2 separate regions of the Homo sapiens genome follow, and region 1 is linked to region 2. Evidence: promoter capture Hi-C in 16 types of primary human blood cells and fetal thymus (Javierre and others, 2016). All regions are on one chromosome and are shown on one strand. Each heading gives the region's core, a stretch centred on a gene start or on the middle of the fragment in contact. The rest is flanking DNA. Distances are from core to core; before and after follow the strand shown. Region 1 overlaps TMEM266 (transmembrane protein 266). Region 2 holds the start of TMEM266 (transmembrane protein 266).

Region 1 (3,275 bases), core at 193-2,692, 94 kb after region 2:
CACTGACCTGGAGGCAGATCCCACCCCCAGTCTCCATGGCTCCCTGCTCCAAGGCAGCCAGGCCTCACCAGCCACTGTATCCCCTGGGTACCATCTTTTCCTTGACAGTGGTCTTCTGTCCTTCCACTTCCGTCGAGTCACCCCCATGTGCCTTGCCCTGGGGTTACCAAGAGGAGGGGGTGCACAGAGCAAGATGCAAGTGGTACCCCCAACAAGGAGACCTGCACGAACTCACTCCCAGACTGGCACAGTGGAGGGGTGGGTCGCTGAGGGCAGAGTGTGGGCAGGGGACAACTGAGCTGGCGTGAGAATGAAAGGACAGGCCCAGAGCAGCGTGGCACAGGCCTGATTGTGCAGCTGCCTCGGGTTTCTTGGGTGCTGTGTGTTGGCTGTGCCAAGGGCTGTGGCTGCACCAGCAGCATCTGCCCTAGCTGGTGGTGGGTGGTGAGCTATACCCCCTGCTGAAGGGGGAAGCCCTATCCTCCTCCCGGTCCAGCTCCTGGCTCCCATCACCCTGGTGTTTCTCATACTGGAGGTACTTCGGGGCTGAATAGAATTTTACCAGAAACAGTCCCTATTTAGTGTACATTTCAACCATGCCTGGATCGCTGTCCCCTCACCCCCATCAGCTTTCTCACATGTCGCTTTCTCACTGAGGCCTGCTCTGACCACCATATTTAAAATGTCAACTCATCCTTTACCCGTCCTAATCCCTCCACCAGCTCTGCGTGTCTTCCTTGTAGTACCCATCACACCAGCACCTGTTGTATTGATTGCCTGACCCTCTCTCCCACTAGAGTGTAACCTGCCCAAGAGCAGGGATTTTCGCCTCTCTTGATCACGCTGCCTACCTTAGCTGATGGTGGGGGCGGCGTTCATTTGACTTCAAGGCCGTCATCCCCTGCCTGGCATTCGAATCCTGCCATCTGCCCAGTCCTCTACCTGGCTCTTCCCTGAGGCTGAGGAGTGTGCTCTGGTGTCAGGGCCAGGCCAACTATGGGCTGACTTCAGACCACAGGTAACTCCAGACGCCCACCTCCTGCAGCTTCCTAACCACCTGATATGGTTAGTAAGTTTCTCTAACAAAAAAAAAAAGAAGAAAAAAACGACATTTTAAACAGCAATATAAATTGGCTTTTCCTCCCTTGGAGGCAGGTCAAGGTCTGAGTCTCCTGTTGATAGGGAACTGAATATATGGAACTAGTGCTCCTGAATACAATGCTTCGTTTCATTCCCTACTCCCTTCAGGACCCTCCTCTGGGGTAGAAGGAGCAGTGTCTTAGGGATGTCCAAGGCACGAAGGTGAACAAATGCCCGGCACCTTCCGTGGAACGTGAAGACGAGGCTTCCTGCTGGCCAGCCCAGGCAGATGGCCCTGGCAGCTGCCCTTTTTATTCATAACCGCCTGAAGGTGCTTGGCTCAGATTTCAAATGACAATGACATGCCATCAGTTTTAGGGGCCGCAGACAACGGTAATGGGCATTGGGGAGAATGTGGAATTGGAGCCAGGTGTCCTTGGGCCCTAGAAAAGACCATGCTAGAGCTGTGGGGGAGGAGTGAGCAGGCAGAGGGCAGGAGGGGAACCGGCTTCCGGGGGCGCTGAGGCGGCTGGAGGCTGGGTGTGAACTTGGGGTGAGAGGTGTGAAGGATGAAAATGGGGCTGGCAAAAGGGGAGGCAGGAATGTCACATCGTGGGAAAAGAAGCAGGGGGAGTAGGTGAGGCCGGAAGGAAGAATCAGGAGGTGAGGAGGGTGGCCAAGTGATGATAGCCAAAGATATCTTAAAATGCAAAGGCTCGTTAATGGATGGAAGCGCTGTGCCGCTGGCACTGCTGCGGGCAGCAGCTTTAGGCTTCTGGGAGCCTCCAGCCCAGCAGGGCCAAAGCTGTCATCTGAGCACCTGGCTTCCCTGGCCAGGTCCCTCCCTCCTGCCCCTTCGGGACAGATGGCCTTCCCATGCGCTTTTCCCCAGCTCATCCTGGCTTTCTGCCTGCATCCCAGGGTTCCCATGCATTCTCTGATCAAATCACAGCCGCCCTCACCAGGCCCTCTCCGGACCCCTTGGCTCTTGAGTTTAGGGCTGCCAACTTTACCAAATAAGAATACACGATTCCCAGTTAAATTTGGATTTCAGATAAGCAACAGATCATTTTTTAGTATGAGTCTGTTGTATGCAATGTTTAGGGTATACTAGAAAATTGCTCATTGTTTATGTGAAGTTGGGATGTAACTGGACATACTGCGCTTGATCTGGCAACCCTCCTGAGCTCCTCCCAGTTTCAGTCTGGGGTTTCCTCTGTAGCCCCTTGCTTGGTGATTGGCCCCTGTGTGCCGGCATGAAAGCAGAAAGATGTGGTTCTGCAATGGACTTCGAAATCCACCTGGAGTGGGCGATGGGGATGTTCATTGATGGCCTTCACCATCTGGCCCCCACAGACCATTCTCCTCCTGTTTTCTGCTTGTCCCTTAATGGAAAACCCTCTCTTTTGACCTGGCTGATTTCCTCATCTCTTGCCCCATACTCTTGGACCATGCGGGGTTCACATCGACCATCCCCAGCCCCATCCAACAAGGCCTCTTCCTCTTCCTCCTTTGCCTGTTGATGTCCTCCTACCTGTCTTTCTGGGAGCAGCTCCCTGAGTTTGGGGACTGGACACCAGTCTTTGCATTCCCCACAGAGTTGAGGACGGGGGCCTATCATTCCCAGAGGAGTTAGAAAATATTCAGAATGATGTGAATAAGCCCAGTGTCCTGCCAGGTTTCTTGAAGAGCTGTGAGCTTTGTCTGTCCTTCCAATGGCGGGGGACTCCTTCAGGCTTTCCCTGGATGGACTGTGAGGAAGAAGTCTCCTTGAAGCATTCACATTATTCCTTCCGAGAGAAGGGGGCGCCTCAGGGCACAGCCCCCTTCCCAACCCCATGTTCGGACCATCAGATATTTTATCATCATCGTCGTCATCATCACCAATCCATTTCAGCTGCATTGTCTTTACAGGGCAGATTAGTTCCCTCATTTAACTTTAGTGACCTGTGAGTTCAGGAGCATTATCCCTGTTTATACATGGGGAGGCAGAGGCGGAGGCCACAGTGGTGAGGAGCCTTCACTCGGGGCCCCAGGGTGGCTGAAGGCAGAGCCAGAAGTGTGGCCTCCTGGGCTGGTGCTGTGGCTGCCACTTCAGGATGCCTAGCTCTTCCTCAGCAAGGGAGGCAGGCAGGTCCTGTTCATACCTAAACTACCAAGCAGGTGAGGTTTGACCTCAGCTCCCCCATCTCTGT
Region 2 (3,362 bases), core at 431-2,930:
GTAGCTTCCACAAGTATCATCTCCAAGTGTTTCTTCCTCTGAAATTCCACCATTAGAGATTAGAGATGAGTAGGAAATGCTGAAAGGCGAAGGAGGATCTGAAGAAATTTTACATTTTTTTCTCAGTTTGCCAAAAGTAGATACTCCCTGTATAGATATTCCCGTATAATCCAGGGAAGGTAGTCCAAGACCGTGGGGCAATTCCAAGAGGTGGTTTTGAAGTCCTTCAACTCTACCATTTTCATTTTATCCATACTAAAAAAGCTACGGCAGGAAGAAAAGACAAAGGACATTCCTGGGAGGCCAACTGGACCTAATCAAATAAAAACACTTTAGAAGAGGTACAAGAATCAGAAATCAAACCTATCTGCAGAGCCAAAAGCCATTCTGAAACTCCGTGTCCTAGAAACAAGGGTTTCCCATCTTTTCAAATATTTTAAGATAAAAATCGCAACACCCTATAGGAAAATGGCTATATTTTTAGCAAGAATTGGTGGAGAAGACAAACGATAATAAGCTACTATGAATCCAGAAGCTGCTTAAATGGCCGTATTCACAGCAGCCCTTGCAAACATTAATTAGAGTAGTACCCATTATGGGTGAGGACTTTTTTTTTAACCACAGAGAATATCTGTGGGTGCATCCAGATTGCTCAGTGGTTCCGTTTAACCCACCCGGTAACTGGCAATCATGGCCCTAGGACAGGCTTCTCCACCGGGGCGATGCTGCCTCCAAGGGGCGCAATGTTACTTTTTATGCATCAAGCACGGATAACACATACAGCACATAAGCAGGTCGACAGTGTATCTGCGGTACTGGGATTTCACGGGGAAAGGAGATGGGGACGTGTAAAAAGCCTTTTTAAGAGTCAGATAACGAAAAACGGAAAAAGAGGAGAAACACGGTCCTACAAGGGTCCTGAGCTGAGGCCATCAAATGAATGTACTGACAGGTATTTTTCTCCCAGGCAGCCAACTGAGAGTCAAGGCACTCTGACCGTGCTATGACTCCGGCCACACAGAAAGAGGTGTTTTCCCCTCGGTGGCCTCCAAGCGCAGCGGGCACTGCGTGCCATCCGCTCCCTCACCGGGCGCCCCGCGCGGATGAAACGGAGCAACTGGGAAAGAGCTCTGGAAACTGCAAAGCGCTGCGCCAAAGCGACGGGAGGTTCCCATTCTCAGCTGTACGAAATCCCGCGGGGGTCCTCCGCTTCCCCGAGCGACGCCCTCGGCCTCCGCACTTGTTGCTTCTGCGCCCCGCCTGCGTCCCCGTCAAACCCACCCTTCGCGGCCCCCTCGCCTCTCCACACGCTCGCACTCAGGCCCCGACCCTGCCCCGCGACCCCCTCACCCACGCCACGAAGCCCGCTCTGCGTGGCAGCCCCGGAGACAGCCGAGCCCCCGCCTCCGCCCCCTGCCCAGCTCAGGCCGCCAGCCCCTGCCAGCCGACGCCGCGGTTTCCTAGACAGCCGCGCCGCCGTTCCGCAGCCTCGGGGGCGCGCGCGCGCGGCCGGCGGGAGGCGAGGGCGCAGGCGCGGGCTCGGCCAAGCCGCCGGCGCGAGGCCTCGCGCGCGCCCCCGAGCGCGGTGGGCGGAGGGGCGGAGGGAGCGGCGGGGCCGCGAGGGGGCGGGGGGGCGGAGAGGGGAGCCCCGGGAGCGCGAGCCGCGGCCGGCGCCGCTGCAGAGCCGAGCGAATCCCGAGCCCGGGCAGCAGGTATGTGTCCTCGCAGCCGGCCGCGGCCAGAGCTTCCCCTGCCTCACTGCCCGAGTCTTGTGGTCGGGGCGGGGGGTGGGGGGACCGGTCAAGGTTTGCAGGATGCGTGCTCGGAAGGGCTGGGATCTTGCCGCTGACCTTCATCCCCCTGGCCGGGGGAGCCAGGCGAGGGTGCGTGGGGCAGCCCAGGGCTTCAGCTCCAGCCTGGAGACCTGCTTCTTGTCACATGCTTCTTATTTATTTTTGCAAACTGCCCTGGTTCGGGTCCAGCTGCAGATGCCTTACCTCCCATTCTTTGCCTCCGTGTGCCATCTTGCATTTATTAATAAAACATGCAAGCTGGAGGGGGGGGTTGCTGCTGGGGGGAATCCCATTGCAGTATGGCAAGCGGGCGCCTATTTTCGGTTTTCAGACGTGGTATAGAGGTGGAAATCCCACACCCTGAGGATTTGTGGCTTGGTTGGTCGTGACCACTTCCTAGTGGGCTTCCCCCGTTTGTCGGGAGGTGCCCCAGCGGCAGAATGGGCTGTCTGGAAGGGATGGTGGGTCTTCACCGTCAGGCCAGAATCCCCTTCAGGGGACAGGTGCAAGCTAGGGCAGGCAGTTCCCTGCTTGCTAACTTGCCAGGGAGGCTTAAACCTAGAAAATTGTCTCCCTTGATGGCCGAGAAAAGATGGCCTTCAACAGAATCCCTGGGACTTGCATACTCAAACTCATTACGGTTTTGCATCTGAACATGACTAAAGCTAGCCACCTGTTGGAAGTCAGACCCCATGAAACACCCCCGTAATCTAGCTCACCCATCCCTGTTTCACAGTCACCAATACTGAGCTAGCAATAGGCCCATATGGGTTCCCTCTATCCTCTTTAATGCTGCTTGGCTTTTCTTTTAAAATAAGACCTACCTATGATTTGATGCCCTATATGTGAGAGGTTGAAATTATATGATTTGTTTATATTCCATACACCTATCACATCATATCCTAAAGACTGAATTTCTCTTCAGTGCATGTGTTTATTTCCCTGGCTTTTCACCTTGCTTTGAACAACAGTGGGAAAATGGGATGTATATAACTGCTTACCTCCTCCCCCAAATACCTCCACCCTAAAATATTGTGATGAAAAGAATAGTAAGAGCTAGAAGCAAAAAATGAAAATGGTTATCACAAGATGTTGGGATATGATAGCTGAACCGTAATTGCTTCTAAAATGGTCAGAGTGTCACATCTAATCACGAGAAGGACATGTTTCTTAAATGTTCATATGTACCAGGTACTGAGCTAAAACTATTTGTGTATGAGCTCATTTAGTCCTCACAGCAAACCTGCTATGTCCATGTTGAAGATGAACAAGCCAGGACTTAGAAAGGTTAACTAACTTGCCCAAGGTCACACAGTCAGGGACAGGGTAAGGATGCAAACTCAAGCACATGGGGATACTGGAGGTGGGGAGCCCTGAGGGGGCTTTTCCTCCAGGTGCGGCTGCTCCGTGTACCTTTTCATTAAAATCAAGCTTATGCATGAGCATGTTGGCTTGGGTCTAATTTTCCATTTCATAGATTCTGCACCAACTTTGTGGCTTTCCAGTAAGAAAAGCAGTTGTTTCAGAATGGATCAGTATGGAATTTTTTGAGGTGGCACTAAACCTATA

Evidence for each region. Contacts are between HindIII fragments. The CHiCAGO score rates a contact against its expected background, and 5 or more counts as called.
Region 1: a fragment that was not itself captured here is called in contact with the fragment with the promoter of TMEM266 in region 2 in 2 of 17 cell types (M0 macrophages and M1 macrophages); the score reaches 7.2 in M0 macrophages.

What each region holds. Positions count from the first base shown.
Region 1 is chr15:76,152,051-76,155,325 of GRCh38, forward strand. The region is part of intron 3 of TMEM266 (transmembrane protein 266); the gene reads left to right. Among named protein-coding and RNA genes, the nearest start is that of TMEM266, 94 kb to the left of the region's middle. RefSeq lists an enhancer at 1-245. The HindIII fragment of the contact is 6,508 bases long and covers 1-3,275 here.
Region 2 is chr15:76,058,305-76,061,666 of GRCh38, forward strand. It overlaps TMEM266 (transmembrane protein 266), which reads left to right and starts at 1,681. Exons shown (of 11, transcript NM_152335.5): 1 at 1,681-1,712. It also overlaps a transcript of NRG4 not described here. RefSeq lists a silencer at 674-723. The HindIII fragment of the contact is 3,394 bases long and covers 1-3,222 here.